Regions from separate parts of the Homo sapiens genome. Here regions 1, 2, 3, 4, 5 and 6 are each linked to region 7. The links are contacts of gene promoters, found by promoter capture Hi-C in blood cells and fetal thymus (Javierre and others, 2016). All regions are on one chromosome and are shown on one strand. Each heading gives the region's core, a stretch centred on a gene start or on the middle of the fragment in contact. The rest is flanking DNA. Distances are from core to core; before and after follow the strand shown.

Region 1 (2,925 bases), core at 398-2,897, 290 kb before region 7:
ATCAAGAATGGTGCAAAGCAGGATGGGGAGTTTAAAATTGTTTCCAAATGTGGGAATGTAAATGAATATAAACATGTAAGATTTTAATATACCAAACTGATCAGATTCTGTGTAATTTCCAAGTTTCTTTTTTCTTTCAAAACTCCTCTGAAATCTGACTGTCCACAAAAACTTACTTTATAGAATTTTATGTGATTTATTTACTCAGATATTATACTGACCTCACATCCAGTAGTGAAAACAGATTTTATTGTAGAATCTGGAAAGATAGAGGGCCATATAGGTTGTATTTTCAGTTTTGTTTATACTAACACGTGTTTACAACCCAGTTTAATTTACACCCTGTATTGTATTATTGTTGTCATATCTCTGTATGCATGTAAGTATAATATGTGTTGGCAAAGGAAAATTTTGAGTAAGAAGAAGCTCTCTGATCTATTTGATTCAATATGTATTTGAGTGTCTAACAGACACTGTTTTAGACACTGGTGATACAACACTGAACGGAGCACCAAATACTTTACAGCGTCTCCTGGAGCTGTTGTCAAGACATACTTTCCAAGGGGAATATTTCAGAATAGGTGATAACTAGTCAACGAAGGAAAAGTACCTTAGTCATCTAGGAGAGTTGTACTTAGAGTGAACTGAAATAAACTAAGCTCACGAAAGACAGAGATTTTTTGTTTGGCTTTTGTCTGTTGCATTCACTACTGTATCTCCAGGGCCCAAAATAGTGCTCGGCTCATAATAAGTATTCAGCAAATATATGTTGTTGATTGGAGTGTTTGTTTTGAATTTCTGTAATCAAACACATACCTTGGTAAATTATCTTTACATCTTGCTAGTTGAAAATTTTATCTCAGTTGCTTTGTTTTTAATGTTACCTTGCTTTTTGTTTCTACTTGTGCCATACATCAGGATGCTGGAAAAGCTTATTAATATTGACAGTCATATGGTTATCTGATATTGAAAAGAATAGATTTGGAAAGGAACCTAAGAGGTCATCTTTTGTTCAGCTTCCTGCCTAGGAAAACTAAGTAAGATGATTAGGTATGTATATTTAATTAGTCATTTAAAAAAAAACCAGGACAACATAATTGAGTTCCCTCTTGAGAAAATGGAGAAAGGTACTTAACCCTAGCTATAAAGGGACTAACCTGGAAATTTTAGAACTTCTGTGTGGGAAAGTGGAAAAAAAAAAAAAGCACAACTAAGCTGCTCTTTGTTGATATCAGAAATGGGCCTGTCATTCATTTTGGCATTGAAGCATAGCCTCCTATCTCGGGGCAGGACTGGGACATTTTTTTCCTCCCACAAGAGCTGGACAGTTATTACAGGTTCAAAAAGCCCCGACCAGTTTTTCAAGAGTTTCTCCTCCTCTTTTCCCCCTGAAACTCGTGGTGCTTTTGCTCTGCTTTCAAGATGCATTAAGTCTCCTGCTTTGTGACTGCTTTGGAGCCAGCAGATACTCTGATATGTATAATTCAAATTATGCAGGTTTCACGAGTAAGTTTAATCTTATTTTTTAAGTTAGTTAAAAGGCAAGTGATATTTAGAAAAATGTTAACTTGTAGTTATTTCACCCTTTTTACTTTAAGCATTTTTATTGCTTCTCGGCCTTTTGGCTAAGATCAAGTGTGTACTTTAAGCATTTTTTAAAATAAAAATATCCTTTTAATTTAATAAGAAAACAAGGTTCTACATAGAAAAGCCCCTTCATCTAAGACCTGCACTTTTCAATTTCTTTTGAGATGTCTTTGTTGTAAACAGTATTCATATGTCTTTTGAAAGCCAGTTAACTAAACAGTTTTCTTGAGCATCTTTTTAGTTTTACTGAGAAGTATTTTAAATTGAGCTTTTCTGAGCTCGATTGCTTACGTCTGACACAGTCTCAAGTTTCCACTGAATGGTAACAAAGACTGTAGAATGTTGTTGGTACTGCAGTGAGAGGCATGCTTCCTTAGACCAGGTAAGAGAGATCAGTTTGTTTCTCACTGCTGGGTGAGTTTTTACAGCTCTTATTTTATATTCTTTAAGCAGCAGCAATATTAAATTGATAAATAGCCAGGAGCACGCTGATTTCAAGACGTCCTTGCTTGTTGCAGACAGAAAAACTACAGGGTTATGTATGGGGGTTGGGGTGGGGGGGGAGGGGAAGAATTAGTTTATTACTCAGTTACTTATATAAATTAATTAAAATGTGAAAATAATTCTGGAGCTCAGTTTTCTTAATTCAGGAACTAAAGCAGCAGTTGAGGAAATCAGTAATTTTAAAGGTACTTCATGGTTATTACTTGTGAAAGCAATTCAAAGGATAGTTTTTACTTTCATTTTTTTCCCCAGTAGTTAATAAAATAAGCTTTGCCCTTAACTAAACATTTTTTCCACTTACGAAAACTTTTAAATTGCCAACAGCAAAATATACTTCCCAAGGATCCTTGGAAATCAACCTGACACTTGAAAAATATTTCAGCTTTTATAGCTGTTTCATTCCTTTTTTTCCCTAGTACATTTTTCTTAAAAGTATTTGTGCTTTGAAAATGTCAGCTGTATTCTAATGAAGCTTAGGCATTGTTTGCTCATAAAGGGGCCGGTGCATTCCACTGCTTTATGGTTTATTATGAGGCACAGTGTGAGAGTGTGGGTGGCACCATTTGGTGTCTGCCTCTTGGGGTAGTGACTGCCATTATGTTAGCCTTGGACTGGCAAAGAAAATATAGCATACAAGATGCTATATGAATCTGGATACTGTGAAGAAAATCTTACCCCTAAACAATTCTTAATGACCCCGGAATATATGACAACTTGATTGAATTGATCATTTCAATTATACCCTTGAAGTTTGCATTTTAGTTACAACGTATATTCTATTAGACACGTCTTATTTTTTGATATATAATAGCATTTAGTCATTCTTTGAAGTTC
Region 2 (3,190 bases), core at 216-2,715, 280 kb after region 7:
TGATGGCTTTGAGGGTCCCTCATGCAGAGTTACTGACTAAGCAGCCCTTGTCCACAAAGCTCTCGTCCCCGTGGAACCACGTGGTGGCACTTGATGGCCATTCCCAGCCCACCCAACCTTCTCTGATCACCGTGTTTGTCCTTGGGGTGGGGCCCCTGCAGCTATCTTCTACTATAGGGCTCTGTCCCTTTCACCAGAGCTCATCAGATCATGGGAGAACCAGTCTCTTTAGTGGGGGTGGGGAAGGAGGGCCGTGGATTCCTTTGCCTGTGAGGTCCTATAGGGCTGGCTAGTATCTTCCATCCACAGGCAGGGAGAGGCAGAGAAGGCTGATGATTAGCACAGACAGAAATGAAGAAAGGTGACACGGGGGACACAGAGATGACAAGAGGTGGAGAGAGGGAAGTTTTCTGCTTCCTGTTTCCAGCTTTTCCCTGTCCTCCCTTAGTTTCTTTTTTCCTTCCAACATCACATTTTGCTTAAGCAACTAAAGATCCCTAAGACACGAACTTCTGTTTAGTTTGCATTTAATACACAGCAGAAGAATTCCAAAAAGTTTTACTTGAGAGCTCAGAATTGGAATTACCTTCATTCCAACTACCAAGAACCCTCAGAATATTGTATGGCCTCTGTTCATCATATTTTCTGGTTAAATAAGAGTTAAGCAGAAAACTTTTTTTCTCTTTGTTTATATCTGTATTATAAAAATATGTCTAAAATGTAAACACAAAAGCAAAAGATTAGAAACAAATGCTAGCCAATTATTAGACAATGGGTTAAACATTCATACAATGTCCCATGATTTGAGGGAGCCTAAACAAATTCATACAATGGAATACTATGCAGTCACTAAAAGAATAAAAGAGATCCATATGTCCCAGCATAGAAAGTTTTCCATTATCTATTGTTAAACAAATGAAATAAGGTAGTGAGTGGCATGTGTAGTGTGCTCTCATTTATATACAACAAGAAAAAGAAAGGAAAAAATTTGTAAGTTTAAATGCACACACACATATATATATTATATATATATAAAATATATATATGCTTAGATATGCATGGGATATCTATGGAAGGACACCCAAGATCTGGTAACAGTGTATACTTTTAGGGAGAAACCTGGGGGCAGAGAGGGAGGGAGACCATTTTTCTCTGTGTACCCTTTTGCAGTATTTGAAAATTATTTTTTCTGTGTACATGTATTAGCTTTTAAAATACATACATAATACACAAGTACACAAAAATGTATTATCTCTCTTTATACTACAATTACAGAGTAGTCATTTCTCTTAATCATACGAGTTCCTGGAACTTGAGGTAGGCAGATCTTCATACATGTCCACACTGGTTGGGTCACCTATTCTAACATGTTTGCTTTCATGCATAAAAACCATTGAGTGGCCAGGTAAAAGCAGGAAGAAGTGAAGGCTGGTGTTCCTGGAACCACACAAAGTGAGGGCAGAAGGGAAATGTGGAGAGTGTAGTCTGAGCACCAGTAAGTTGATATCTGAGGTTGAGGAACTGCCAGTCAGTAAACTGGGGCTGTCATTCCTGTGTGGATTGTCATCACTCAGAGCAGCAGAGTCCTTGGACTTGGGCCTTCACTTGCTGCATTGATTAAATGGTGAAAACAAGACCTTCTTTCCAGGTTCTTCTGAATAAAGATGAAAGTATGTGCCTGGCTCAGTTAGTCTTAGCTCGATGCAGAGTGTTTTGTGGTCATTTTGATAAATTTTTCTTTAATGTGTCCTGAAAGGAGGTGCGTACCCTATATTAGTAGAGATTCTGAGTGTCAACTCTGATGTTAGATGTCCTGGATGTGGATTCAGACTCTGCTCTTGAGAGGTTATCATTAGAAATATCTCTGCTCCCTTTGAAGACTTTTTATTTTTTTTTTTGAAGAGTGTGTTTTCACTTGTTTTGGAGAACTTGATTTCACTCAGCATGGATATCTTTGTCTATCAACTGGGGAGAACCAGTCTGAGACTGAAGCTAATGCAGAGGAAAGTAAGAGAGAAAAGGGACAGAGAGTGAGGGGTTGAGAGAGATATCATTTTGCTAGAGCCCTTGAATTCAGTTTTGCTTAAAGCCAGCTATATCCTCCCCATATCATGAACAACTGGGTTTCTATCTCTGGCAATGGAGAAGGTCTTGACTCAGTTTCCTCATTCTTGTGTTGAGATTTAAAAAAACACGTGCTAGAAACCGGCTTATATGCTTCCTTCCCAATCCCATCAGGTGGCCACCAGTCACCTGATCCTGATTTCAGATATGGTCTGAAGGTGTGGCTGATGAATAAGAGGGTTAGGGGGTTTTCCTAAAGGAAATTCAGGTGCTTTCACCCATAAACATAGAAAAGGACTCAGCAGGAAAACCTGTAGCTTTCCTCCACACTGGGCAGGATGTAGTGGAAGACTTGTACTCACTGATTTTTAGGGTGGACGCTATCAAAAATTCTGAGAGGCAAATGCCTTGTGTGGGCAGCTGGAAGCAGTATGGTGAGCTTGGTTTCCCAGGAGGTTTTTCAGAGAAATGAGAGAAGTAGGAGTGACTGTGAAATCACTGAAGGATTTTAGTAGGGCTCTGGAGATTGGGTCCCAAGGTTCTTCCCTCCATTTTCTCATGCCAGACTTGTGCAGCCTGGCCAGATTTCTGTGTGGCCTAGGTGTTTCCTCACTGCTCAGGAAAGAACGTCCTATTAGTTGTTTGAAACTGAAATTGGCCAGTGAGTTCTACTTCTACCATGCCTGCTGATGCTCCTTTCCTTTCTGAAGAGGCTCTTCCCCGTTAGGGTGACCCATCGTCCTCATTTGCCTGGGACTGTCTCAGTTTTAGCACTGAATGTTTTGCAACTTGGGAGAGTCTTCAGTGCGAGGCACACCAAGGCAGTTGGTCATCTGGAGTGGCGAATCGGCACACTTCATAGATGACTTGCATTTGACCGCAGCATGCTGATGCTGGGAACATCCGGGAGGAGCTCGCTGGCTGACGGCAGAGGCAGAATTGAAAACGGCTGAATCCAGAGAGCTGTGGTGGGGCTGGAGGTCAAGGCAAGCAGAGGCGTGAGGGGCTGTCTCACACAACACTGCAAGGAAGAGGCTTTTGATGGGGCCTTTGAATTAGGTATTGAGAAATGATCACGTCTGTGGATGGGGCTGGGGTAGGGATGGGCATGAACGTTTCAGCATGG
Region 3 (3,026 bases), core at 107-2,606, 490 kb before region 7:
TTCTCCTTTCTTTCTTCCTTCCTTCCCTTCTTTTCTCCTTCCTTCCTTCCTTCCCTGCTTCCTTTCTTCCTCTCTCTCTCTTTCTCTCTTTCTTTCTTTCTGACAGTCTCGCTCTATTGCCCAGGCTGGAGTGCAGTGGTGCGATCTTGGCTCACTGCAACCTCTGCCTCCCGGGTTCAAGTGATTCTCATGCCTCAGCCTCCCACGTAGCTGGGATTATAGGCATGGGCCACCATGCCCAGCTAATTTTTGTATATTTAGTAGAGATGGGGTCTTGCCATGTTGGGCAGGCTGGTCTTGAACTCCTGGCCTCAAGTGATCCACCTGCCTTGGCCTCCCAAACTGCTGGGATTACAGGGGTGAGCCACCGCGCTCGGCCAAGTCACTGAATACTTTCTGTGCCTTGAGGAAAAAAGACTAAGGCCCCATCCCTGCTCTGAAGGAGTTCACTGTCTAAAACCAGCAACTGACACCAAAACATGATGTAGCCAGAGTCCCCAAAGGAAGTTACTTGCAGAACCCAAGAGCCTCTAGGAAGACTAGTGAAGAGGAGGTTGGGATGATGATTAGGCCCTAAAACATTGGTAGGAGCACTTGGAGCTTCTGAAAGGAGTAGGATGACCAACTGTTCCAGCTTGCCCTACCAACTCCTGATTTTAACAAAGTCCTGTGTTCCAAGAGATTCCTCAGTCAAGGGAAAACTGGGATTGTTGGTCACCCTAGGAGGAAGGGACACTGACTAGTTTCTTTGGAGGAAGGAGGGCATTGAGGTCACTGGGATCAGTCCTGAGGCACCATTCATTTCCCTTTGGGGTGTGACAGGGAATGATGACCTTTACACGATTTCTGATCGAGCCCTGAGGAGCTGCAATCAAATTTCTTGAGAGTGTGGGAGGCTGGTACAAGGATTTGTAATCCTGGGCCTGCTTAAGAAGGTAACGTGTAAGAAGTGGCAGTGGTGGAGAAGCAGCCTGGGAGAGCAGTCCAGCCCAGAATCTAAGATGTAGCAGCTGGGTCAGATGAAAGATAAGGCCACCAGGTAATGCAGCACACAGCAGCAGTGGCCTCTGAATCAATAACAATGGACTACCCCAAAGAAAGGAAATCAGTACATCGAAGAGCTATCTGCATTCCCATGTTTATTGCAGCACTATTCACAATAACCAACATTTGGAAGCAACCTAACTGTCCATCAACAGATGAAATGGATAAAGAAAATATGGTATTACACATAATGGAGTACTATTCAGCCATTAAAAAAATGAGATCTTGTCATTTACAACAACTTGGATGGAAATGGAGGTCATTATGTTAGGTGAAATAAGCCAGGCACAGAAAGACAAAGTTCACATGTTCTCAGTTATTTGTGGGAGCTACAAATTAAAATAATTGAACTCATGGAGATAGAGAGTAGAAGGATGGTTACCAGGGGCTGGGAAGGGTAGTGGACAGGGGTGAGGGGTAGGGCCGGGGGAAGTGAGGATAGCTAATAGGTATAAAAAATGGAAGGAGTAATAAGATCTAGTATTTGATAGCACGACAGGGTGTCTATAGTTAAAAATCACATTTTTTTATTTCAATAGCTTTTGGGGTACAAGTGGTTTTGGGTTACATGGATGAATTATATAGTGGTGAATTCTGACATTTTAGTGTACCAGTCACCTGAGTAGTGTACATTGTACCCAGTAGGTAGCTTCTTATCACACACCCCCGTCCCACCCTCCCATTTCTGGGTCTCCAAAGTCCGTTATATGACTTTGTGTACCTTTGTGTACTTAGCTCCTACTTCTTTGGTTTTCCATTCCTGGGTTAATTCACTTAGAATAATGGGCTCCAGCTCCATCCAAGTTGCTGTAAGACATTATTTGATTCCTTTTTATGGTTGAGTAGTATTCCATAGTGTGTGTATATATATATACCATATTTTCTTTATTCACCCATTAGTTGATGGGCACTTAGGTTGGTTCCATATCTTTGCAATTGTGAATTGTGCCATAATAAATATATTTGTGTAGGTGTATTTTTCATATAATGACTTATTTTCTTTTGGGTAGATACCCAGTAATGGGAATCCTGGATCAAATGGTAGATCTACTTTTAGCTCTTTTAAGGAATCTCCACACTGTTTTTCATAGAGGCTGTACTAATTTACATTCCCAACAGCAGTCTGTGTTCCCCTTTCACCACATTCACACCAACATCGACTATTTTTTGATACAGTCAATTTAGTTGTACATTAAAAATAAGAGTATAATTTGATTGTTTGCAACACAAAGGATAAATGCTTGACATAAAAGATACCCTATTTACCTTGATGTGATTATCATGCCTGTATCAAAATATCTCATGTAACCCAAAAATATATACACCTACTATGTATCCATAAAATTTTTTAAAAATTAAGAAAAAAGAATGACTGACCAGCTATCAAAGGCCTTAGAAGCCTCTGAGCCCTGTGCCTTGTTGCCCATATACTCCTTTCCCTTAGAGAAGAGCAGGGTTAGAGGTGCTGACAGAGAACAAAGCAAGTGGGAGAAACAGGTATCTCTTTGTTCTCCCAGGCCTCTCCTACTCAACAGTGAAATAAGATCTTGATTTTTATCTGAGATCTTTATGTTTGCTTTACCCAACACCCAGCACCTGAAGTTATGTGCAAAATTTTGTGTGTATAAGCATCTTCTTGGGAAGATAGTGTTCATTATGGCCTCAAAGTTGTTCAAGATCTGAAAACAATTTGAGAAACACTAGATTAAGTGGTTTCTAAGGCCCCTGTTTTCAAATTCTATGATTTGATAATACTCAATATAATTTATTTGAATTTATAAAAAGGATCATTAAGGAAGTGTCAGGTTTCAAGAAGCCAAGAAATATCACTTTGAGAAATATACTAAATATTAACATCAGGTAATACAAAGCCGTTTTCTCTGTTGTGAATGGGGAACTGATATGGTTACTATTATGTGTGAACTTGGCTAGGCTAGTTAGACACACTGTATGCCCAGCTGTTCGGTCAAACACCAGTCTAG
Region 4 (2,991 bases), core at 30-2,529, 410 kb before region 7:
ACCTTCTCCGTGCTACCTTCCCAGATCACTCTATTTAGGACTGAAGCCATTCCTCCAACACCTCTGCTTATATTTTTTTCCCATAGCACACATACCAGCATGTAATATAGTTTTTGTTTTACGTATTCTTTTGCATATTATCTTTCCCATCCTGCTAGAATGTAAGCTCCATGAAGGCAGGAGTTTTTGTCTCTATTTTGTCCACTGATGTCTCCCCATATCAAGAATAGTGTTTGGGGCCGGGCGTGGTGGCTCACGCCTGTAATCCCACCACTTTGGGAGGCCCAGGCGGGAGGATCTCTTGAGTCCAGGAGTTCCAAACCAGCCTGGGAAACATGGCGAAACAGCCGGGTGTGGTGGCGCGGGCCTGTAGTCCCAGCTACTCGGGAGGCTGTGGTGGTAGGATCACCTGAGACTGGGAAGTCAGGGCTCCAATGAGCCGTGATCCTGCCACCGCACTCCAGCCTCGGTGAGAGCAAGACCCCGTCTCAAAAACAAACAAAGTGGCATATAGAAGATCTATAAGATTTGACTGGAGTAAAATGAGAAAGATCTAATCGTTTTAATGCGCTGTTCACACGGGGTTTTTAACTTCGGCACGAACGAATGAACAAAATCTTTTCATATGGAACCAAGTGTACGGGTATTTGGGGTGTGTGCAGTTTCCGCGGGACAGAATGACCTGTCCTGGTTTGGGTATTAACTTGCCTTGATATTGAAGAACCTCCACATTCCCAGTGGTCTCTAACTCATTGTCTGAATAATTTCAAGGTGTCCCACAGTTGGCCCCACGCATAGCCTCAATCACGATCACTCGCCCCCCTGTCCCTTATTGATGCTCCCCCAGGGCGACCCCGCAAAGGCCTGGGGACCGAATGGAACTGCCCCAGTCCCCCTCCTTCCAAGAGAGCTGGGGTTTTCTGGCTTCGGGGTCAGTTGGAAAAGAGATTCCCACCCAAGTCGCAGGGTGGGAGTAGGGGGGATGAGATAGGAGTGATGAAGGAAGTGTGTCTAAAATTCTAGGCCTCAGGCCCGCAGCTGTCCCTGGAGGCGGCGGGGAAGCGGGGTGGTCGGGTCCTGCGGAGGGCTCCCAGGGAGGCCACAGGGGGAACCAAGGGGCGGTGGCTGAGTGCACGAGTCCCGCCCCTCCATCTGTTGGCCCCCTACTCTCAAAGGGAAGCCTGGGGGCGGGGTTTGTTTACTCCGTGCACGCACTGCCGGCCCGGCCAATCCGTGGGGAGCGGCGCCAGGCGTCGCACATTCTGAGGGCCAATCGGCGCGCACTGTGCTGCTCCGCCGCCAAAGCTCGCGCGGGGGAAGCGGGGCTGTAGCTGGGCAGGGAGAGGGCGGACGAAATCGGTAGCGATCTCGGCTGCGGCGCTGCCGCAGCTGCCCGGCCCGCGGGGCGCGCCCTGACCCTTCATCTTTGGGCAGGCTCGAGGGCGCGCGCACGGTTGGCGTTCTGGGGCCTCAAACTCCTGGGCCTTGACCGGGCAGGCCGCGTCTCCCCGGGTGTGAGTCCACCGGGACCCGGCCGCCGCCTAAGCGCGGGCGCCACAGAAGCGGCGGCGCCCGAAGACGCGCTCCTGGCTCGGCCCGACAGCCTCGCTTGGCCGCCAGTTCTTCTGCAGCCGAAGGCGGTAAGGTCTGGGGCGAGGGCGCGGGCCCGCGCGCGGAGGGCCTTTGGACCCGGCCGGGCGCGTTCCTGGGTAGGTTTCCCTCCCTGCGCACAGGGGCCCCCTTGTTCCCCCACGAGTCCCATCTGTTTAGACCTGGGTTCTCCAGGCCTGGCCGGGTAACCCGTGAGTGTCTGGGCCAGAGTCGAAAGCAGAGGAGGGTCACCCTCTTAGTGCATAGAGCAAATCGGGGGAGGTAACGTCCCTGAGTCACGCCTCGTGGAAGAGGGGAAGGGCTGCTTTCTACTTTCTCGTTCTCTTCAAAGAAGGATGGCTTCTAAATCTGGTTTTCCGATTTTTCCCTTCTCCTTTCATGACTCACAGGCCTCTGTGTCCACCAGGTGTTTTGTTTGTTTTTAAAGAGTTTCTAAGCTTTGTGTGCTTGGAAGAACCTCATATGCCCCATAAAGGAACTTTTCTCTGAAGTAGAGGATCGCTTTTTGGGCCCAGACTCCTTTGAGAAAATCTGGAAAGCCAAGGTCTGTCTTCACAAAGAAGTGTAAGGGTTTTCCTAGGATCTCGCTGAGAGACAGTACAACGAAGTGGATGAGCGCCCCAGTCTCTCTTACCAGCCTGTGCTATCTCCCATTGTGTGATCTCGGTTTCTTCATCTGTAAATTAGATGCATCCACCTATTCGGTGTGTTTCGGGGAGTGAATGGACTAATGTATGGAATGCAATCGTAAGAAAATCCTCCACGTATTAAATGCCTTGCATTAGTTAGGCACTTTTATTATTGACTGCCATGGATGCTGGTTTAGAAAAAGACCCTATATTATTTCCCTTTTAGTGTTGAGACAGTGAACGGGCTCATTCCTTTTCCATATTCACTGCTGAAGCTGCCTTTGAGCCCATGAATACTTTTATCTTTTCCTCATTCCATCTCAGAGGGCACAGACTCCCTCTCACTTATTTGCTTTCTTTCAGTAAGGCTCTCTTTTAGCTCAGCCTTCTCCTTCCCCTGTCTCCCCGAGATCTGAGTTTTGTGTCTTTTCATTTGACTTGCACAACCTACTTTTTTTTTTTTCTGGGCCATGTGTTTTCTCTTCATGGCTTGAATTTATCTTCACCTAATAAATAATTTACCTGTTTTTTTTTTCAGCTCGTGAATATATATTCATCTATTTTCTATATGGCATAATCATGTCCCTGTCTCTCTTTAAAAGTAGATATAAAAATAGTTTAATTGATCTATATTGCAGCTTCCTTTTCCATTTCATTGTTTAGCCTGTTATTTAGCTAAACTTTATCACTATCAGATTACTGTAATTAATCTTTAATGGCAGTGTCCATTCTCAGACAGCACCAGGAGAAA
Region 5 (3,105 bases), core at 205-2,704, 470 kb before region 7:
GAGGGATAAGACTTCTTCCTAAAGCAATTCATTGTGAGTTTTTTATCTTGGCTGTCCTTTTTTCTTTTTTGAAATGTTTGTATTCTTTCATGAGTTTTGGGAACATTCTTTGCTTGTAGAAACTGAAATAGTGGATATTTTTTGAAGAAAGACTGAAAGCCTTTGTGCTTCTTTTACATTAAAATAATGGAGCGGAGCCTATTCTGCTCATTGGGCCCCAGGGAGCCAATGTGGTGTATGATGCTGACAGATTCCACAAGAGCCCTAGCAAACAGCCGGGACACAACACAGATGGGCACAGCACAGGGCCAGCCAGAAGCACTAATTGTTCATTTGTGAGAGAAAAGGAGAGACAGACTAGATCCTGTGGAAAAACCTATTGTTCGTTCCAGTCCTGGCCAGCAGCTCCTCCTCCCAGCTTGTTGTTTTTTTCCTCCTGCATCCATGGTGCATTTCTGTCCTCATGGCCATAGAAACATTATTTTCCTCACAGTTGCTGTCAGGAGGTCTAAAACTTTGAACTTTCTTTTTGTTTTTCTCCCTATCTCTCCCCCATCCCCCTGTTAGGGACCAGGAAACTTACGAACTTTTTTCAGTCTTTGAGCTTTCTTCATGTTCTTCAGGTTAAGCTTTTTTTCCAATATATTCAAAAAGTGGTGTGTTTAGCCTGCTTTCTAAAATAACTCTAACTGATAACACTTCCATTTTGGTTCTTTTAAATTCCTTTTGTTCTAAAAAAAAAAAATCACGAGCTGTTTTGTTTCTTTAGTCAATGTCTCTTGGGAGATTTCTGCCAGCTAACTTCAGATCAGGGTGTGTGCCAATTAGCAACACAAACTGTGAGTCATGGGAGCCTGGATTCACTCATAACTGTTTGAGGGCTCACAGGGAGTAATGCACCGTGCTGGGGGCTGCACTGCGTATACAGATGAATAAGAATACCAGCCCTAATTTACAATCTCATTATATAGGTACACAAATTACTCTATATTCCCATTGCACAAAATAGATTTTTATTGTAGTATTTGATACTTACATTAATGAGTCTTACCAAATACTTATGACTTAAAATATATTAAGAGCCACAGAATGATGTAAAGTGTTAGAAGGGTTTAAGACAATTAATTTACAACATTGCCATTTATACTTTTCCTTCATTTTTCCTTTTTTTGTTGATAGAGATAAAATAAACCCAGGTCAGTGCTGAGTGAATATTGGAATGTATGCTATTACTTGAAAAATCAGTATTCTAGATTGTCTTGTTCTATGTTATAAATTAATGATGCCACTTTCATCTTGTGATTTTGTCTCTCCCCCTCACTGCTTTTCAGCCACACTAGCCATTCAGTTCCTCTAAGACACGCTTTATCTTGCTCTAGGACATTTGAACATATAGCACATTTTGTTGGGAATGTTCATACTTCTGATTCCTTCTTATCCTTCAGAGCTGAGATCCATTGCCATTTCTGAAGCCTTCACTGACCACCACACAGGGGCCATCTGTTAAATACTCTCATGGCACCTCTATTTATCCATTTTTTTTTTTTTGAGGCGGAGTCTCACTCTTTTGCCCAGGCTGGAGTGCAGTGGTGCTATCTCGGCTCACTGCAAGCTCTGCCTCCCGAGTTCACGCCATTCTCCTGCCTCAGCCTCCCGAGGAGCTGGGACTACAGGTGCCCGCCACCGCGCTCGGCTAATTTTTTGTATTTTTAGTAGAGACGGGGTTTCACCATGTTAGCCAGGATGGTCTCGATTTCCTGACCTCGTGATCCGCCTTCCTCGGCCTCCTAAAGTGCTGGGATTACAGGCGTGAGCCACCACGCCCGGCCTCTATTTATCCTTTATAGGGCGTATTCCAGCTGTAAGTGAGCAACTGAGTAATTGATTATTTGTTTACATTCCCTGGTAGAAAGTACAGTCATCAGGGCAAAAGTGCTGTGTGTCTCTGTTCATAGCTGTGTACCCAACTCCTGGTACAAATTGGCTTATAAATTTTTGCTGAAACCAGTGATTGAACATCAGATTTAAGTGTATAAGTATGTGCTGTTGTAGAATGGCTCTGAAGAATTATATATCAATAGATTTTATCTTTATCAAACACAATCTGATCTTTGACAAAGGTGCTAAGACCAGCCAGCAGAACAAGAATAGTTTTTTCAACAGATGGTGCTGGGAAAACTGAACATTCACATGCAAAAGAATTAAATTGGACCCTTACCTAATACCATATACAAAAATGAATCCCAAAATGCATCAAAGACCTACATTTAAAAGCTTAAACTATAAACTAAAAACTCTTAGAAGAAAACAGGAGAAAATCATCATGACTTTGGATTTGGCAGTGATTCCTTAAATGACATCAAAAGCAGTTAACAAAATAAAAAATAGATAAATTGGACTTTATATATCAAAGGACATTTATTTTTTCATTTGTTTATGATGACTAATTTTTCAATTTTCTTAACTATTGGAACTCTCCAAAGTAGAAAAATTACCCTAAATTTAATTATAAATAATAAGTAAGCTATGTTAAAATTAATTTGACATAATGTGCAATTTGCATTTAAAAAATGTCTGAAAAAATTTAGTCATTGATATCTAATATGCAGTTAGGCTTCAGAAAACCACCTGCAGCATGTAACGTGGAAGGTGTGCATCTTGGTAGGTTTGATTTGTAATTTCATCCAAGATTGAGGACTAAAACAATAGGAAATCACTCCTCTGATTTGTACTCATGATAATGGTGACCATTTGGATCTCTAAAGCGAAAAGAAGTAACATGCTCATGATCTAGGTAAATGTTGCGATTTCCATTAATAAAGGTGAAAAACAGGACCCTATCAACAGAGTGAATATTGCGTGATCTGGCCAGCAGCCCGCAATACAACGGGGCTCTCTCTTTGTTCCTAGGTGGATCAGCAGGTTGAGAAATAATAGACACAAACAAGATAGTGAAAGCTGGGTCCAGGGGGGTCACCGCCTTCTGGTCCTGCGGTGCCAACAATGCACTGGATATACCAGCATTTATTATTAAGTTTAGTGAGGGCGGGGGTAGGTTAGTGAGAGATTTAGGGTCATTTGATTATGAGGTGAGATGGTCACATG
Region 6 (3,081 bases), core at 94-2,593, 510 kb after region 7:
TCAAGCTGATCAATAGAAAAAAGAGTTACAGATACTGCAGTTCCACAAACACTCGGAGTGCTGTGCTCCAAAGGCCAGGTGGCCCACGCTGTTCCTGGTGCCCAAACGCAGCCTCCCAAGGCATCAGTGAGGATGGGCTGGCCAGGAGCCAATCCCTAACAGAGAAGTTCCCCCTACACATCCTTTCTCTGAGATAAGCAATTAATTTAATCCAAGACTTAATGAAAGCCAGGAGAAGGGATGGGGCAGATTCATACACTGGCTTTCAGGCTGTCCCGTGCATCTTCACCTCTCTCCAGGGACCACGAGGGTTTTTTTTTTTTTTTTTTTTTTGACAGGGTTTTGCTCTTATTGCCCAAGCTGGAGTGCAATGGCGCAATCTCAGCTCACTGCAACCTCTGCCTCCCAGGTGCAAGCGATTCTCCTGTCTCAGCCTCCTGAGTAGCTGGGATTACAGGTATGCACCACCACGCCTGGCTAATTTTGTATTTTTAGTAGAGACGGGGTTTTTATGTTGGTCAGGCTAGTCTCGAACTCCCGACCTCTGGTGATCCGCCCGCCTCGGCCTCCCAAAGTGCTGGGATTACAGGCGTGAGCCACCGCGCCCGAGGCCTTTTGATCCATCTGCTATAAATCCCCTTCCCACAGATGTCCCGATTGGGCACCAACACCTCTGAGGAGGGTAAGTTACTGCCAAGCCCGACCGCAGTCGCATCCCGTTTGAAAGGGTGGGCTCCGCACTGCCAGCTTCACACCCACGGGCCTTCTGCAAATATCAACAAACGGCTCCATTTGTGGAGCACTCTCCGATCCCCCATCCACCCCCCTACACTTCCCCATTCACAGCTCGATCTGATTCCCCATCTCTCCTGATTTTACTTGTTGAATGCTTACAAAGGATCCTTGCCTTTCCACAAAGACACTGGCTAGCCAGGCGGTGATAACCTCACTCACTACAGAGCCCCCTCGCAATCGCTGAACTCACAGCCGAAGCGGGAAAATATGGCTCCACGTCCTGCACCGTGAATCCTTTACCATCCACAGGTACAATTTAAAAGGCAGCTGCGGCTGCAAAGCAGGCAACCTACCCTAAGCAAATCCATTCTCTCTCTCTCTGTGTGTGTGTGTGTGACAAACCCAGCTTATTTAAAAGATCAGGACATAGGCAAGTTCACCAGCAAAAGCAACGTCGTGGGTCTACACCACACGGTCCTAACCTGCGCATCCAGGAATGTTAACCTGCGCTCGGGCGGCCCCGTGGCCAGGCCCGGGACTCCCGGAGGCGTCAGGCTGCAGGTGGCTGCCAAGAGGAGCCAGCCCCGTCTCCGGGAAAGGCCGCGAAGTTGCGGCCGCCTCCTTACCTGGAGACTAGCCGGCTCAGGACCGCCCGGGAAGGGGGATCCCGGGAGCTTGAATCTCGGCTGGAATCCAGCGGCGGGAGTGCGGGGGCCGTGCGGGAGAGGGCTGGAAGGGCGGGGGCGAGGTGGAGGCGGGCTCCGCGGGAGAGTGCGGGGCTGCGGGGGGCGAGGGCTTGGAGACAGAGCCGGGGGTTCGCAGCGGGCGTGAGACGGCGCCAGCTCTGGGAGAAGGGGGCTATGGGGCGGGCGCCGGGGCTGGGACACCGGGCGCACGGGGGGAGTGGCAGGAAAGAGGGCGCAAGTCCTAGGCTCAGGGGCGAGCGCGGGGATAAAGGAGGAGGCTTAGTCGCGGGATTCGGACCCGACGCTTCGAAGCGCCCCCAGCCTTCCCGCCCCTCTCCCACTGGCGAGTTAGGGGGACCCCCTCAGTCTCCCAACCTCGGACCCTGGACGCCCACCCGCCTAGAACCTCTGCGCTGCTCGGCCCCAACGGCAACCGCCCCGGCCCAGGCCCGCGCCGCACTCACCGCCCATGGTCCCAGGCCGGCCCCAGCTCCGTCGCTGCGCGCCCGGCTCGGCGCTCGCCGCCAGCTCCTCCCGGCGCGAGGGGAGGCGAGGGCGGCGCGCACCCGCCACCGGGGAGCTCGCGGGGCCCGGCAGCGCCCCCTGCCGACCCCGCCGCGCCCCGTCTCAGTTCGGCCGGCCCTGCACCAGGAGCCCTGGAGCTCCGCCCCGGAGGCGGTGTTGCGGTGCGGCTGGGCGGGGGCGACCGCGCGGGGTTGCTGAGAGGACACTGCCTCTGGGAGGCCCAGCACAGCCCGGAGAGACTGGTCAGTCTGCAGAGCCCTCGGCGTGCAAAGCCACGGGCACGGACAAGCCGAGCGCGCAGGGACCACGACCACAGACGCGCAGGGCTCTCGCGTGCCTCACAACTCCTGACCTGCGATCAGGGACTGCGCGGAGGCGCGCCAAGGCCCAGGAACACAGCCCTGGCCGGCCCGGGCCCTAGTGTGGGTGCTTTGGGGCCATGTGCCTGCCCTGGCGCCGCTGATGCTATCGCCGGGTGGGCGCGCGCGTCTGGGGTGCGCCTGCTGCCACGTAGACCCAAACTGTCACCCCCCACCCCCCACCCCTTTCGGCCTATCCCACACTCCTCTTCCGGCTCAGAACACATCCGGCCTTGTGTTGCTCTAGTCCTCGCTGCTGCTCCGTCTCCAACGGTCTGCAGAGACCCGGGGAGGTCGTGGCCCCGCGCAGTCGCCCTTCCCACCTGCTCCCGGCCCGCGGCTTCCTTGGAGCCGCTGCTGAAGATCCTCAGAGCACTTGAGGGCTGCCTGTAACGCCCCGTTAGACATCTGATAGGCGAACGGTTGTATTTGGTTTGATCAGTATTTGTGGGTCATTTATTGCAAATGTTAGGTTCCAGCTGGTGGAGATTTCCACCAGATTTCTCTGTGGGAGATGAAACGACCAACAGCGATTATCAGAGAGGTCTTTGCTGTCAGCTCGAGGTCTACAGCAACCCTGTGTGTCCTAGCACAACTAGCCTCAGGCAAAATAGATACGGATTCGAATTTGCTACTATATACCTTTGAGGTGCACCTTTGGGAGGATCTCATCCCTTGACTTCTGCTTTCTCTCCTTGATTGATGGCTCTCAAATCCACACACTTGGCTCAGATATGTTAGCCATATTTCCCCCTACCCTCCGGTTTTTTTCTTAG
Region 7 (3,147 bases), core at 200-2,699:
AATATCTGAATCCAATTGTTGTAAATCCTCTTTGAAACAAGCCCTTAGGAATAAAAGACAAAAGAGCATAAACTGCGAAATCTCTTGATTCTGGTATGTTTACAGTCTCACCCCCCTTAAGGTGAGCAATTCTCTGTATGTTCTCCAATTCTCTCATTTTTCAAGACAAGTCACAGTTTTCAAACGATAGAAATGTCCGTTTTCTTTAACTACCCTCAATAAAGAATTCCACTGAAGAGGGTCTCATAGTAATTTTAAATGCCCTATCTGAAAATACAACTTGCATTTAAATAGCACCTGCTTTTCAAAGTGGTCTGAGTTCTTAGAACCATATAAAATATAACAAGATTAAGCTGTTCTGAAAAGTTTCACTTGGTCTAATATTTTAACTCAAAATATCACAGAAAGAAGACATATTTGTAAGAGGGTTCTCCACAAAGGCATGACTCAGAGCAGCACAGTATCTTCTCCAGGAAATGGCATCCAATATGGAGAGGGGGGTGTGATGGAGGTGAAGTTTTACGTTTCTGAAAAAAGGGCTTACAATTCTTCAGCTTCCATGAAACTTAGATATTCTTGAACCACACTGTTCCCTTCAAGCCACGCTAGTGCTATCTGACCCGTCTTAAATCAATCCAGATTTAAAAGCCATTCGAAGAGCGGCGGTAAGCTAATCCGGAAATGCAATGGCTATGAACACTTTCCTGCGTCCCTCGAGGAGAACTAAGGGTGTCGTTTTGTGGAAGATGACTCTGGAGCATCACTTTGGTGGTGACCAAGACTATTAAAGTTCACTGCTGAATCACGGCCTTTACCCTGACCACCTTGTGTTGAGCTTTTAGAGGTGGGGCTGGGGCTGGACACACAAACCGAAGTGTTTCCTGCTAGTTCCCAACAATCACCCGGTTTTACTTTCTTGGTCACACCCATCACTACCTGAAATTACCTTGTTTAACTCCGTTTATTGCCCGTCTCTCTCCCTAGAACACCAACCACCCGGCGCAGGGCGCCTGTTGCACAACCCCGCAGCCCCAGGCGGCGGCCGCAGCCCTCAGGAGCCGCAGCAGGAGCGTGGCTCCGCGTTCCTCCGGCGCCGGGGCAGGGCGACCTCCACCCACTCTCCCAGGCAGGGCACTTTCCGAGGCTTCTGACGGACGCCCGTCCCTTCCCAACCCCGAGGTCGGCTCCCGGAGGCCGCAGGGCGGCCCTGGACTCGCGTGCAGCGCTTACCCATCACCTGGACCCTGCAGATGGCGCACGTATCGCACTCCACGTCCCAGCTCCACATGGCCACCGCGTTCCACTTCTTGAGGGAGAACATCTTGTCGCCTCCCGACTTGGAGCCTGAGCTCCCGGAGTGAGAGGCCAGGGCGCAGGTTTCCTCTCCGTCTTCCACGTCGGCCATGGCGGCGCCGCGGAGCCGACGGCGGAGACGTTGGCTTGGGGAAGGCGGAAGGCTAGGGCGGCTCTGTGGAGCCGCCCGACGGGCCACAGCGCCGCCCGCAGGCCGCCAGCCACCGTGGTGCCTAGACCCCGGCTGCCCACGATTGGCTGGCGCGGCACAGTGACGTCACCTGACGCCAGCGCCAGGGGGGCGGGCAGGCCCCGCCCTCGCCGTCCTAGGCCAACTGAGAGGGCTCGGGCCCTTATGGGGCGACGCCGCTGAATCTGCCTGCTGCGCTGCGGGGTGTTACGTCTGAGCAGGCGCACAGATTGTGCAGGGATATGTGTCCTGCTTTACGGCTTCATTAAACCTACTGCTCTCAGAAATTATCTTGTTAATTTATTCGTTTGTCTCTTCCCTCCCAAATGTAAAACTCTATCAGAGCAGGAAACATGTTGCTATCACCACATTATCCTCCGTATCTGCAAAATGCCTGGCCACAGGAGGCACAATTATTTGTTGAGTGAATAAATGATCTTAAAGATCTAGAAATCTGGTTCAGTGATTCTCAAAACTTTTTGGTCCCAGGACTCCTTTTCACTTAAAAATTATTAGGACCTTAAAGAACTTTTATTTATGTAGGAAATGTGTAAATATATATATATATACACACACACATATTATGTATGAATATATATACACATATACAATGAATATATGTATATTCATATATACATACATTTCCTGTATATGTATACACACATATGTAGAGATTAATGTTTGCTTTTGAAGAAATTAAAACATTTTAAAATGTATTCATTAAAAATCACAGTAGTAACCTCATTACAGGTTATCATTAGAGGGATGACTTCACATACCATGTAGTTGCTAGAAACTCCGGTGTACACTCGTAGAATGAGAGTGAAAAGAGAGAAATAGCTCTAAATATTGTTAGGCAACTAGTTTGCCCTCTTTTGACCGCTAAAAGAGGTCGGGATCCCAGGAGTCCCGGTGTGTGGCGACACAACCCACACTTATTTTTCAGGCCCCGCTCCCTCAGCTGCACAGTCTCCATTCCTTCTGCTCAGTACATTTGAGCTAGTTTAACTTCCTCTTTTTATATGTAGGACTAATGAGGTCTGAAGAAGTGAAATGACAAAGATCACATCGTTATTATAGTAGTGCTTCTACGGCTAGCCCACCATCACATGTGTTTCCAAGAAAGCCGGTATCTCCATTGAAAAGAAAACAGAAGCACAGCCAGCCTAAGGAGATGCCTGACCCCACCATCACCTAGTGGTGGACAGCTACTCTGTCAAGTTTGGATTCTGAGCCTCTCCCCATCCCCTCATTTCCTGATACCTGGGCAAAAGCTAACCAGACTAATGGAGCCTGGCAGGGGAAACAAGAATGCATTAATATACAGAAACATAAATATGGACACAGGGTCACATTTGGTTAGATGCAAATGCGTATTTGTTGAGTGGTGTGTTAAGGGCTGTGAGGGTACAGGATGCAGTGAGGGAAAGCCTCATGAGAGAGGTAGAGGATGCAGTGAGGGAAAGCCTCATGAGAGAGTAGAGGATGCAGTGAGGGAAAGCCTCATGAGAGAGGTAGAGGATGCAGTGAGGGAAAGCCTCATGAGAGAGGTGAAGTTTGAACTGGGGGAACATGGGAGGTCTTCAGGGCCAGTGGAGAGAGCAAACCTCTCTGAGCTGTTGGCCAGAGCAGGGCACAATGGTGGCAGCAGACAGGAATTGGAC

The links. The method cuts DNA at HindIII sites, captures the fragments that hold promoters and counts their contacts. A CHiCAGO score of 5 or more calls a contact.
Region 1: a contact is called between a fragment that was not itself captured here and the fragment with the promoter of RNF7 in region 7, in 1 of 17 cell types (fetal thymus). The highest score is 7.3, in fetal thymus.
Region 2: a contact is called between a fragment that was not itself captured here and the fragment with the promoter of RNF7 in region 7, in 1 of 17 cell types (neutrophils). The highest score is 5.5, in neutrophils.
Region 3: a fragment that was not itself captured here is called in contact with the fragment with the promoter of RNF7 in region 7 in 1 of 17 cell types (fetal thymus); the score reaches 6.6 in fetal thymus.
Region 4: a contact is called between the fragment with the promoter of TFDP2 here and the fragment with the promoter of RNF7 in region 7, in 4 of 17 cell types (fetal thymus, monocytes, naive B cells and 1 more). The highest score is 9.0, in fetal thymus.
Region 5: a fragment that was not itself captured here is called in contact with the fragment with the promoter of RNF7 in region 7 in 1 of 17 cell types (fetal thymus); the score reaches 7.7 in fetal thymus.
Region 6: a fragment that was not itself captured here is called in contact with the fragment with the promoter of RNF7 in region 7 in 1 of 17 cell types (neutrophils); the score reaches 6.7 in neutrophils.

What each region holds. Positions count from the first base shown.
Region 1 is chr3:142,027,623-142,030,547 of GRCh38, reverse strand. All of the region lies in intron 3 of TFDP2 (transcription factor Dp-2), which reads left to right. Among named protein-coding and RNA genes, the nearest start is that of TFDP2, 120 kb to the left of the region's middle. RefSeq lists enhancers at 1,215-1,264, 1,671-2,172 and a silencer at 2,559-2,608. The HindIII fragment of the contact is 1,428 bases long and covers 934-2,361 here.
Region 2 is chr3:141,456,212-141,459,401 of GRCh38, reverse strand. No RefSeq gene overlaps it. Among named protein-coding and RNA genes, the nearest start is that of RASA2, 29 kb to the left of the region's middle. RefSeq lists an enhancer at 3,181-3,190. The HindIII fragment of the contact is 9,299 bases long and covers 1-3,190 here.
Region 3 is chr3:142,228,667-142,231,692 of GRCh38, reverse strand. No RefSeq gene overlaps it. Among named protein-coding and RNA genes, the nearest start is that of GK5, 4.6 kb to the right of the region's middle. The HindIII fragment of the contact is 3,566 bases long and covers 1-3,026 here.
Region 4 is chr3:142,147,832-142,150,822 of GRCh38, reverse strand. TFDP2 (transcription factor Dp-2) reads left to right here and starts at 1,279. Exons shown (of 13, transcript NM_001178139.2): 1 at 1,279-1,640. RefSeq lists silencers at 1,004-1,053, 1,164-1,373, 1,434-1,503, 1,734-1,783 and an enhancer at 1,134-1,634. The HindIII fragment of the contact is 3,426 bases long and covers 1-2,050 here.
Region 5 is chr3:142,207,592-142,210,696 of GRCh38, reverse strand. The region is part of intron 3 of GK5 (glycerol kinase 5); the gene reads left to right. Among named protein-coding and RNA genes, the nearest start is that of GK5, 16 kb to the left of the region's middle. The HindIII fragment of the contact is 1,645 bases long and covers 632-2,276 here.
Region 6 is chr3:141,230,716-141,233,796 of GRCh38, reverse strand. It overlaps PXYLP1 (2-phosphoxylose phosphatase 1), which reads right to left and starts at 1,972. Exons shown (of 6, transcript NM_001037172.3): 1 at 1,886-1,972. RefSeq lists a silencer at 1,854-2,233. The HindIII fragment of the contact is 5,995 bases long and covers 1-3,081 here.
Region 7 is chr3:141,736,600-141,739,746 of GRCh38, reverse strand. It overlaps RNF7 (ring finger protein 7), which reads right to left and starts at 1,449. Exons shown (of 3, transcript NM_014245.5): 1 at 1,231-1,449. The coding sequence starts at 1,405. RefSeq lists enhancers at 298-976, 1,177-1,416, 977-1,656, 1,767-1,816, 1,857-1,906 and silencers at 977-1,156, 1,417-1,676. The HindIII fragment of the contact is 15,473 bases long and covers 1-3,147 here.